Linked DNA regions of Homo sapiens: region 2 is linked to region 1. The links are contacts of gene promoters, found by promoter capture Hi-C in blood cells and fetal thymus (Javierre and others, 2016). All regions are on one chromosome and are shown on one strand. The core of a region is centred on a gene start or on the middle of the fragment in contact, and the rest is flanking DNA. Distances in the headings are between cores, read along the strand shown.

Region 1 (6,287 bases), core at 1,369-3,868:
TCCAGAAGAAAGTGTAGAAGACAAAAGCGAGCATAGACATTGGGGCAAACAATGTTTAAGGCATTGCATCAATCTTGGCTTTAGGAAAGCCTTGAGACAGGTGAAATTAAAATAAAATGAGGAAAGGGAGAGTAAAAAGCAACTATCAAAATTGGCATCATTCGGAGATTGACAGCAGGTCTAAAACATAAAACCTATGCAAATTTCTCAGAATTTGGGGACAGTATTCCAAGTCGTAAAATGTAGGAGATGCCTTCCAAGTGCCCGATGAGTGACAATAACTTTATTGACATTGAAAAAAAATGTTTTTTACGTATAGTCTGTAGAATATTGATTTTGCACAGGATCAAAGAAGGCTATGACATACTCTTCCTTCTCAATATCTCCAAAGCTAAACCGATTATATCAGTCCAAAGTAAATTAACGCGCCTTTCCTTTCTATCGGCGCATCTCATTCGGAAAATACGGTAGGTGCGGGCAGCCGGGGCTCTAATTGCAGGCGGCGCGGATCAGCGTTAGTCAGGCTGTAATGCTCGCCCCGCTTCGGAGACTTCCCTCCCCCTCATCTGCCCCCGAATGTGTTTTGGCTCAACAGGTATCACATGAAAACTCGCACTTAAACCCTGGTCATCTTCTCACAGGAGCCACCCTTACATTTTTCTGCCAGGGCTGCTGCTGGCTATTCGCGCCTCCCCCACGCGAAGCGCGCGTCTAGCAGGCAGCCCCAGGGCCATCCATTAACCACCAACTCCCAGTGGCAGGCGAACTAAGCATAAATGTGTGGCTCCTCACCCGTCGAGCCAGCGACAAAGAAACCTTGTAAGCAACCTGAGCCGTGCTTTGTACATTTGGCAGTGTAGTTGTGCCACTTAGGACAAGCTTTTCGGCTCAGAGCTGCTCTGAGGCCCCAGAGAGAAAAGAAAAATCAAGCTTCAAGGAGCAGGTTGGGATTACAAGGCAGTTGCTGCCACAGAGACCGGGGCGACTGACTTCCTGGCATTTTGGGATGTAAATTAAAATTCTAGACATGCCACCCATCATTGGTTATAGTAGAGGGAAAGGTAACCTCTCCAGCTCCCTCCTCCCAAAACATGAATTATCATTTCCACTGAATGCAAATGAGCTGCCTTCCGTGGGGGGACAGCCAGCTGCAAGCTGGACAATAAACTGTTTCATAGAGACGCGGCCCGATTGCAGTTCAGAGAGGCACTCCTTTACAAAGGAAGAAGCGTCCAGTTTGTGTTGACAGCCCTGGCGCGCCTGGGCCAAAACAGCACCCCCTTTCCCGCGATCCCCCGCCCCCCCGCGACACACAGACACCCGGGATTTGAAACTAGCTTCACTGAAAGCGGCATCCATAGCGTCTATTCGAGCTGCCATGAGTATGGAGAGGTGATTGTTCAAAAAATGATGGCATGAGTCATAAACACCTCCTGAGTATTCTTTGCAGCAATTAATGGGCAGCAGGGTGCCGGAGAAGTTGTGGAAGAGAGCTATGGATCTATTTTCTCCCTAAGGACAGCTCTTTTTCCCATGATCCTGACTGTCCCTTGCCTTCCTGCTTGGGAATACATTTTTACATCCCACCTACCCCCTCCCCTATCTGTGCATGTGACACTCACTCTACCTGTCTGAACGCTGAGACTTGCTGGGGATTTTCTTTTGGTCGTCAGCTAATGACTTTCCTCCTACCTCATTCATCCCTTAAGGTGGTTCTTTACACTTCATGGCATTTCAGACCCTTCGAAAGCCTCATTTTTTGCCAAACCTCTACCACAGGTCCTAGGGAAGCTCCCCTACATTTAACATTGCATAGAAGCCCAATTTACATACATATGCATGCAGACATTCATGTTGATGTGGCAGTGCTTGGAAGATCCCTGTGCCCTAATGCATTTAAAATCAACACATTCCTAGCACGTCGATAACTTTCTTCCCTGAAAGGGTTAAAAAGCATTTAGACCAGCGTCTTTAATATATATATTCCACCCAAAGCCTCAAGCCCTAGTGATCTGACAAGAAATCAAGGTAATCCTCACCACTAAGAAAAGTCTTGCAGAGGAATTCTGCCTGGATATCCACTAGTTAGAGGCTATACTAACCAACTCACGTATTCGTTTGAGCATACTGCAAGAATATTTATTGAGCACAAGCTCAATCACCGCATTGAACGCCAAATCTGGCAAGCAAAATGCATTTCCTATCTGAGGGGGGGAGAACGAGCTGTGAATCAACTCCTTTAGTATTATCAGATTATTTTATCGGTGCAAATTGCAAAGTAAGCTGCCAGCCTCTCTCCATCTACAAGTCAGCCCACCTCCATCCAAAGCGGAGGGGACCCCCAAAGCAGACCTACCTTTCACACAAGACACCGTCAATAAAAAGACGAGGTTCCAAAACGTAAATCCACTTTTAATCCCCATTTTCTTCATCAGGATGAAGTCTAGGCGGCCACATTTAGCGCATCTTCGCTTGCCAGGCTCCCAGGGTTTGGATTCCTTTGCTCGGCTTTCCCCTTTGCGGATCCCTTTCATATTATTCGCGAGCTCCTAATTCCTGCTCCTCAGCCCGGCGCAGTGGAGTTGTTGCTGTTGTTGGTGCGCGGTCACAGCTCGGAGTGAATGGTGTTTCTGGGATACCACAGCAACCTTGACGAGGACTCAACCATCTCTCCAACGGGGGCACAAAGTCTCCGCTACTCTGGATTCTGTCTTTTCTTGTGCGTTTTTTCCCCTCCACCAAAATCTACCCCAATTCTGGCTCGTTATAGCAACCACCAGAAACCACTAGTGAGCCTCTTAAAGCCCACCTCTGCTCTCTGATAAACTCCACACAATATTTGAAATTAAGGGGCTTGCTTTTTTTCCCCGAATAGATCAATTCTGCCTGTAAAAGCAGCCCAAGAAATAATGTTAGTGAGCTCTCCGTTGCAGGCTGCGAATACAGAAGCATGTCAAAGGAATATTTTAATCGGAGGATCTGTGTTGCTTTTGGGGAAACCGTGACGATAATGAATCGGGCTCCATCGATGCCCACGTCGTTATAATGGGACATGTGTTACTACTGTAGTTGCAGTATATTTCAGGCAGGCTTCTCCCATTTATTATCCTGTGATTTAATTGAAAAAGGAAATCACAGAGAATTTTCTCAATAAATTCTGCCTTCACACGGAAAAGAATGTATTTGAACACATGTATTTACATACTCAAATAACTACGTGTAAACCCTTCACCGGGTTTTTATGATTCGGGAAACGGATTTCATCCGTGGCCTGGGCGGGGGTGGGGTGGGGAGGGAAGTCAATGTCGTTTCCTCAAATAGTTCTCCCTTTCATCCTCCCAACCCCCTTTTCAGTTTGTGTGTGCCGCAGTTAAACTACTTTATCTGTGGTAGTTATCTAGAACAAACCCATTTGTCTTAATTCTGAATCGGTACCAAATATGTAAATAGGAGGTTTCTTTCAAAACGAAAAATGTATGTATCTATACATCTGGATCTGCTTCCCCCATGCACCACGCAAGGGTTAAGATTGCACAAGGGAAGAGTTCTTGCGCCATCTACTGGCCGTCTCCGAGCCGCCCGTTCTTCCTTCGCATGTATAAGGGACCCTGTTTTTGCCATCCCTTGGTGTCAGGGGAGCTGTGTCCCCGGGACCAGTATGTCGTGCTCCTTGATTTTTTTCGACCACGGTCCTGGCCCAAATCTTTCAATGAACAAGTTCCTTAGATTAGGCAACTGATTGGTGATCTGACCTTTTCGGGAATCTGGTCCCCTCTCAGCAGTGGGGAGTGCCACAGCGCTAGTTCTGAAACAGGATATTGCTGTTGCGTGTGGCTCCATTTAACTGCCTCAGGCTATCATGGGCGTGAGCGTCTATCAACAAGGCTTAGTCTAGAGGACTGCCCAACTTGAGTTTGCAGCTCCCTGCACTGTGCACAAATAATGGGTTTGGTCCCGTGCACCACAGCATTACCCTGGCCAGCTTTGTCCCTTGGCTCGCGTTGGAGCTGCCCGCTCAGCAGAGGAAGGCGTTAGAATCTGGAAGGAGTTCCGCTCTGGGAAGTGGGCACACTGCGAGTGTCCATAGGTTTGAGTGGCGAGTGAGTTCAATCTGCAGGCGTAGGAAGGCTTCTGATCTCTCGGGGTACGTGGCATTGTGTGTGGGCCTGTGATTCTCCCAGTTCGTGTGTGTGTGTGTGTGTGTGTGTGTGTGTCTGCGCGCGCGAGAGCATAAACGCGCTGTAGTGAGAGGTAAGTGTGCGTGTTTATGAAAGATACAAAGAGTGATTTGCCATGCGTAGGTGTTTTCCCAAGTGTATTTTTGCAGTACATATGCGTGTGCACGCCTGTGTGTGTTTGTGTGTTAGAGAGGGATTTCTGTCCTGGGTAGGGAGCTGTAGCAAAAGGTAAAAGCTGTAGACGCCCAGCTGACCTCATTAAATTCAGAGAGATACTTTAAGAGCCCTCAGGCAGAACATTGTCCCTTCTTTTCAGTGCTCTCTTTCATTGTCTGCATATGCAGGTTTCGAAGGGGAGTGGGCAACAAGGTAGGGACTAGACAGAGACTGGGAGGATCAACATGGAAAACGACATTAGCCTGCTAAGCCACCTTGGCAGCTGCTCTGGCATTGATTTCAGTCAAGATGTCAGCGTGTGGTGTTGCTGCTGTTGCCTTTGCTGGGCTGGACAACCAGTTAGAGATGTAAACAGGCCCTTGGACTTAATGAGGATGCTCAGCAAAAATCCTCCTTACCAAGTGTGCAGAGGTTAGTCACCTCAACTGAATTTACTTCTTATTAAAAGAAACAAAAATATTGGGTTTTATGCAATCTATTTGAACACATAACACATGGCTATACATCCAGACAGGAGGACTTCATGCCAAAAAAGCAAACAAACAAACCCCCCCGCAAAAAACCCTTTCTCAAAAGACAGGGTATTTTAACAGTAATTATTGTGCACAAAGTAAGTAAATTTTGATTAAAAGACCATAAAGATTACTAGTAAGATACCAATTTCTGATATTTATTTTCAAACACATGGCTAATCCTGTAATCCAATTATCTTTCCCTAAATGAATCCTGCCTATCATTTCATGTGAGATTGTTAAAAGATTTATCTGGAATCTCATAATATATTGAACAATACTATAATATCTAGTTTCTACAGCTCACAATAAATCACAAACCATTTTCACCTGTGTCTTCCAGCTTCTGAGACAGGATGGAAAATAATATTTCACAGACGGAAAAAGTTAAGGCATGAGGAGCTAAAGAGGTTTATCCAAAGTCACTATCAGGAACTTTGGTGTTTAGTCCAATGTGTTTAGGGCTAGATCTCACTAGTCTTTCTTGATGAACAGTATCCTCTTTAAGGAAAGATTTCCAAAGGTATTCCAGAAACACAAAATTTTCAGCCACAATCCTGGGTGAGAATCCTTTAGTTTCTCCAGAAGGGGTGGGGGCGGGGGAGGGAACATAGTGTCTACATTTGGGAGAAAGAAATTATCTCTTGTTGCTAATCTGTAGGAAAGCAACACAGCTATACATTCATTTGTGTGAGACTATTAGAAAGAGATTATGGAAAAATAGCTAACATAATAGCAAACTTCAGGTGCTTATTGTACATTAGGCATTGTGCTATGTTTACATAAGATATATTATTCAATCCTCACTACTTTCTGAGACAAGCTCTACAGCTTTCTGAGACAAGCATAACAACTATCCTAGTTTTACAGATGAAAAAAAAATTGATACACATAGAAGTTAACTGTCTTGCCTTGCCTGAAGTAACACATGTAAGAAGTATGAACCTATGGCACCTGATTTCAGAGTTAATATGCTTCCCTAATGTCCTATATTTTATGCTAGCTCCTACAGATGCTTGTTTTGAAATAGTCTAGTAACAAAAAGAATGAATCATTTTTACAGTACACATGATACATAATTATAGAAAAGCAATAATTTATAGTTTATAAGTGATAAAATTTTAGAATATATATGTACACATATAAATAAAAAACTTTTGTCCTTTTTATACTTATCAGTTACGAAAATTCCTCCTCTTTTTAAAAATTTTTATTTACTTCTTGCAGCCTATTGATCTTCCTACATATAGGTCGTGGTAAAACGTGACTTGGCAAGGATCATCAAGACACAATGATTAAGTACCCTTAAGAGCTTTTAAAAAGAGGTTAAATCAGAAATGCACAAGCTCTTTAAACTAGAAGTACTAGATTTCCATTCCTTTCCAGTTCCTTCCCCAAATACCTATGGAATACAATTAAC
Region 2 (6,287 bases), core at 1,827-4,326, 400 kb after region 1:
ATTTTATAAGCAAAGGAAACACATTTACCATTACCAATTTCTATACTGGCGTGTATAGCTTAAGCTTATATGGATACGGAGGTAATAAAGAGCTTCCAAAATACCATTACCATAGTATAACAGAGGATTGGCTTCTCATTTATGCAATAAGTTCAATGGATATTTCTAGGAAATTCTTTCCACATAGTAGTTCAGAGACCCAGGCTGACAGAAGATTCACCACCCACACAGCTTTACAATTAACCCCTGATGGGAAAGAGAGAGCGTGGATAGCTTATTTGTTTTGCCCCGTAACTGGCATATGTTATATTCACACACACCCCATTTGCCAGAATTAGTAAGTAGTCTTAGAGCACTAGAAAGCATAGTCTTTTGTATGCTCGAAAAAATACAAGGTATCAGTGATCATTAGTGATGTCTACTTTAACAGCATTCCCGGAATTCCTAGCGATATCTGATCCTAAGGACCAAGATATTAATTAAGCACTGGGTTATCTTTTTTATCTTTCTGGGTCTAATAAACAAATTTGATAGAAAAGTATACTAATTTAAAATTGCTTAAAACATACAGAAAGCAATGTGGAAGAAAGAATATTAATAGCTGTAACATCTGCTGTTAATATATGAAAGTACGTGTTTTTCTTATGCTTCCTATACATAAAATTATAATATGTAGTTTTAAAATTATCCAGTTTTGTATACTGTATTTTTCACCCATTATTATTTTTCCAAATTTAAAGTATTTGAAAAGATTATATTTAAAAGTTTGAGCTATGCCAGAAATACCCTACTTAACTAATATGCTGTGTTGGATATTAAGTTGTTTAAATGTTTTAGTATTATTTAGTAGCATACCATTTAATATCAAGAAATTAAAAGATTTATATTATAGGTATATCTTGATATTAAATGGTGTATTTATACTTTTAATATAAATTTCTAGGTATACCAATAATCAATCTTGTGATTGAGTATAATTTTATTTTTCATAAAATAATGATACATTTAGTTTCCCATTTTTACTCTATTTGTGATTTTACTCTTTTTACTTGACTAAATTTATCAGAAAATTGTTTATGTTTTTAAAAAGACAAACTACTTTACTACTAAAAGGAGACATTTTCAGTATTAATCTGGTAATTAATTAAAAATTGGATTTTAAATAATAGAGACTTCATCAAAAACTCTTCAGGGAATATTTGCCTTTCCCCAACTCAAAGTACATTGTTTTCCACAAATTACCGATTTTAGTGACTTATTTTGCTATCAGTAAGATCTTGTTTGATGTGTCTTTTTGAGTTCTTCCTCTTTTTGGTGTTATCCTGGTGATTGTATGAAAGGATAGTATTTTTTTCCCCTCAGATGGTTTTGGAGAAAATAGTAATTTTCAGAATAGATCTGAGCTCTAAAAATTGGCTTTGTATCTGATAAAATTAGAAATCCATAAAACTTTCCAAGTAGAAAGTTAAATAAGCTCCTATACTTCAACACCTCAAGACTTCCAACATTATATAATCTCATCAACTCTGCAGGTACAGCTTTTCAGAACTGCGTGTTCACACAGTAGGGACAAGTTTTTGTGCCAGTAGAGTTCAGAAGCTAATTTTCAGTGGCAGTCTTGTAAAGTTATACCAAATATATTTGGAACAGTGTTGTTAATATAGAAATAATAACACTTATTTGAAGAACATTCATTTTTTGAATATTTGCCATGTTATACTTTTGTATTATTTTAGAACTCAATTTTGCCTAAAAAATCAAGTATTTTCTAATTATAAAAATTGTCAGGCTGCAAAATGCAGTTCTAAAGTAATACATGTGCCAAATGTACAGAGGAAGTATAGTAGTAAAAAAAATACCACCTTTCAGTGTTATTCTTGAAATTTAAAAATTAATTGATATCCTCTGGTATCTGTAATGTTTCATTTAGAAGGCTAGCATTTCACAAACACCATTGTCAGAAGATGATCTACTTTGGAGACAATAATTGCTTTCTCTTTAAGGTACCCTGCAATGCAAAACTGTAAGTGTAGAAAGCTAACATTTATACAGAAAAGGAAATGTCAGTCTTTCCTCCAAATATATACGTTGTTGTGTAGTGTCATTTTAAACATGAATATATTTTATACATAGAAGTTGAGAAAAAAAACTTGACGCTTTGAGGACACACTTAATATCATGTCTCATATGTTATTCTAAAAAGCAATCACATGTTTACAAGCAGACATAAAAGCTTAGCTTTAAAAATACCCATAGAATTGATTCTTAAGCAGTCTGTGCTACAGTTATAACAAGTATTTAAAATACTTTTGATAACATTTCCTTTTGCTTGCACTATAGTCAGCTTAATTGAATGACCGTTTTTGCGCCATAAGAATAAACAGAAACTTGGCCGGGGCATGGTGGCTCACACCTGTAATCCCAGGACTTTGGGAGGCCGAGGTGGGTGGATCACGTGGTCAGGCGTTCAACACTAGCCTGGCCAACATAGTGAAACCCTGTCTCTACTAAAAATACAAAAATTAGCCGGGCATAGTGGCGGACGCCTGTAGTTCCAGCTACTCGGGAGACTGAGGCAGGATAATGGCGTGAACCCGGGAGGCGGGGCTTGCAGTGAGCCGAGATCGTGTCACTGCACTCCAGCCTGGGCGACAGAGCGAGACTCCGTCTCAGGAAAAAAAAAAAGAGAGAGACAGAAACTTTAATTCTCTCTATATCAATACCAGAACAAACATAAATAATAAAAACAATAACCTCTTAATCCTATTTTTTAATGTTTACTTTGTAATGGTGCTAATGATACCTTGATACTCTCTACATTTCCAAAATAATTATGTAACAATAGCCAACCAATGTTGTGAGCAAAATGTCTCATTTAGACTTCTCAGCTACCTAACAAAATGCTTACAATTTATCTACTACTTAATAACTTGCCTTGACTAAACAGGCTTCTCTCTTTCCCACAGAACCTTGAACTTTTTTCACTTGCCCGTAAGTTTAAATAAGCACAAATGTGCAGAATACAGCCTACCCTCACCATTAAATGCCCTTTTCAAAAACTTCTGACCAGAGGGAAACATTTCCTATTAGAACACCTCAATCATTCTTTCCATTCATTACACTGTTCCTGTCCCCAAAACTTCTGCTAGTCCTTCTTACATGTCCTTATAAAAAGGGACCTTTTTCTGTTTAATATTGAAATGATTGCAGATCTTGTGGTCAGAGCTTTCTCTCTATTACCACAGCCACTTATTTAAGTATTTATTTTTATTTATTTATTTATTTTTTTGAGATGGAGTCTTGCTCTGTCACCCAGGCTGGAGTACAGTGCTGTGATCTCAGCTCACTGCAACCTCTGCCTCCAGGGTTCAAGTGATTCTCCTGCCTCAGCCTCTCTAATAGATGGGATTACAGGCATGTGCTACCACACCTGGCTAACTTTTGTATTTTTAGTAGAGATGGGGTTTCACCGTGTTGGCCAGGATAGTGTTGATCTCTTGACCTTGTGATCTGCCTGCCTTAGCCTCCCAAAGTTCTGGGATTACAGGTGTGAGCCACCGCTCCCAGCCAAAATTTTCTGTTGAATATTGAGGTGATTGCAGATCTTGTTGTCAGAGCTTTCTCTCTATTACCACAGCCTTTTAAAATAAAATTTATCTTTACTTAAGTCCAGGATTGTTTTTATTTGTCATATTTACTGTTGTTATCATTATTCTTAATTTTTAACAATAGAAAACTGCATATTACAGAAATTAATTTAGCAAGTATTACATGCATAATAATGTTGATGCTAGAATTTTAATATAGGTCTGTATCACACAGATTTCCACTCATCATATAGGCTATTATACTGCCTCAAATGTGATAATATTTATTAGAAAGAGTTATGTGCTTTAAAACACTATGCAGCATTTTCCTTTAAGCTTTTACTATATTCACCACCCTTGTTAATTGTGGAAATGGGTCTTACCAAGCCACCATTGAGTAGAATTGTTAGGCATATATAATTTTTTGGGCACTTGACCACATGTGTTGATAGTATTCAAATAGTAGAGACCATGTTCCTCTGACACTCAGTGTACAAATACTCTCTTGGCTCTCTGGCAGACGTGTCTGTGATACCCCATCCTCAACAGGGAGGGTGGTTTGGGTTGAGCCCTTCATCTGGCCCCCCACCTGGCATTTCCTCCCTCATATCCCTAAAATGTGATCTAATAATCACACTCCAAAAATGTATTAAAACTTAGGAGACTGGAAGGACACAATTCTTAAATCCAAATTAATGAACTTAAATCCCATTGGATGAAATTTCAGGAATTTGAGCAAGTAAGGCTTCTTAGAAATGAGAGTCTTCTATTTCCTCAGTTCAAATTATACTACAGAAGTGAAAAAAAAGTCAAATTATCTGTAGTCTTTGCTTAAGCATCGGTCTCCAAAATCCTACTACTTTGCACTTTTATTGCAGGCTAAGTGAATTTGTGCCTCTCGGTTTTTCAGCTGTATAAGAAACCAGCAAAGATAAATTCCCTTCTATGGGAAACTTTAGGATAATTTATGATCACCATTTTTGTTGCTGATTGTTGTTTAATATATTTGCCTACAAAAGAATTACATTTTTATGAATAAGTCATTAAAAATCTTTGTATAACAGTTCAAAATATGCTAGCTGATGAAATTATTTATCAGTCTAAAACCACATGGTTCCCTATGAGTGCTGTTTTCATGATGTAAACCATGTTATATGTAGTCTGAGCTTCCTTTAGTAAAATAGGAGATTTGGGCACAAAAAGAGGGAGATATACCTTAACAACAAAATAAAAATAATTTTGGCATTCTGAGGTTAAGGTGCTAACTACAGTTATTGAGCCTTTCCACAAGTAAGAGAACTGAGCATCTATTTTTACTCTGGGATAGAGAGGCAGTCATTGATGTATGACTATGTATAAGGATTAGCAATGGGAAACTACTTTTTCAGGTTATGCAAAAAAAAAAAATCAAGCATAAGTTAATGGAAACTCTATTGCCATTGTGTTGTGCCCCTTACTTTGAAATGTGTATTGGTATTCTCCAAAAGTTGAGCGTGGTCAATAAACTATGGAATTATGAAGTATCTTTGGTAAAAGTTTTGCTAAAATTAATATAAACAACTGAAGTGCAAAAAAACAAGTTAAATGAAGAGAAACAGGGAAAAAAGGTGAGAAATGAAGCATTCAGTGGTGGAATTTCAGCTAATTAATAACAGCTTCTTTAGGCTGATTTTATTATCCATTGAAACAGACAATTAAACTTTGCAACTTGAAATAAATTTAGGTTTAAAAATCTGAGTCAAATTTTTGAAAAAATATATATTATATAAACTCTTTGTCGTCTCAAAAAAGAGCACATGTATAATAAGTATATATCTATACCCATATACTTCTGTATATAATGTAGATATATATGATTTCATAAATTAAAATAATATATATCTATACATTGTTGATAATCTAGCTTTAACTATATTAATGTAAGAAATTATTTTTAATTTGAAAAAGTTGTGGCTCTATATTGAATATTGAAAAAATACATAGTTGTGCCTTACCTAACAATGGAGATACACCCTGAGAAATGCATAGTTAGGTGATTTCATTATTGTGTGAATGTCATAGAATGCACATACACAAACTTAGATTGTACAGTCAACTGCACACCTAGGCTATATAGCCTTTTGCTCCTAGGCTACACACCTGTACAGCATGTTACTACATGGAATATTTTAGGCAGTTGTAACATAATGGTAAATATTCATGTATCTAAACATATCTAAACATATAAAAGATACAGTAACAATATAGTATGAATGATTTTAAAAATGATACACATACATAAAACAGCTCCATTATAATATTATGGGACCACTGTTGGGTATGTGGTCTATCATAGACTGAAACGTCATTATGCAGCACAGGAAAGTATCTTTTCTAATTTTACTTTAAATTTTTTTCCCTATTTTTAATATCTCCTACTATCATAGTTTCCCCTTCTCATACTCACCTCCTTTAAAAACTATTATTTCACTGGAATTCTAAATTTAATATTTATAAATTTACCAAGTCCTACTTCTTCAGCAGAACGAGAGAAAAATATTTTCAGGAATCACATCTGTAATCTGTCTTCAAGTTTTTCTGTGGAACCCCTATTTTGAGTGAGCGGTGCTTATTTTAAACATTTTGGAACTAATTCAAGAGGCAATATGTGGCAGCTTACTTGTCCAAGATCAGATCATTCATAGTATGTGTAAAATTAGA

What was found. Contacts are between HindIII fragments. The CHiCAGO score rates a contact against its expected background, and 5 or more counts as called.
Region 2: a contact is called between a fragment that was not itself captured here and the fragment with the promoter of CSMD3 in region 1, in 1 of 17 cell types (total B cells). The highest score is 5.2, in total B cells.

The regions. Positions count from the first base shown.
Region 1 is chr8:113,434,321-113,440,607 of GRCh38, forward strand. It overlaps CSMD3 (CUB and Sushi multiple domains 3), which reads right to left and starts at 2,619. Exons shown (of 71, transcript NM_198123.2): 1 at 2,357-2,619. The coding sequence starts at 2,534. RefSeq lists enhancers at 1,203-1,713, 3,491-3,540, 3,553-4,053. The HindIII fragment of the contact is 6,354 bases long and covers 929-6,287 here.
Region 2 is chr8:113,835,532-113,841,818 of GRCh38, forward strand. No RefSeq gene overlaps it. Among named protein-coding and RNA genes, the nearest start is that of CSMD3, 400 kb to the left of the region's middle. The HindIII fragment of the contact is 1,690 bases long and covers 2,232-3,921 here.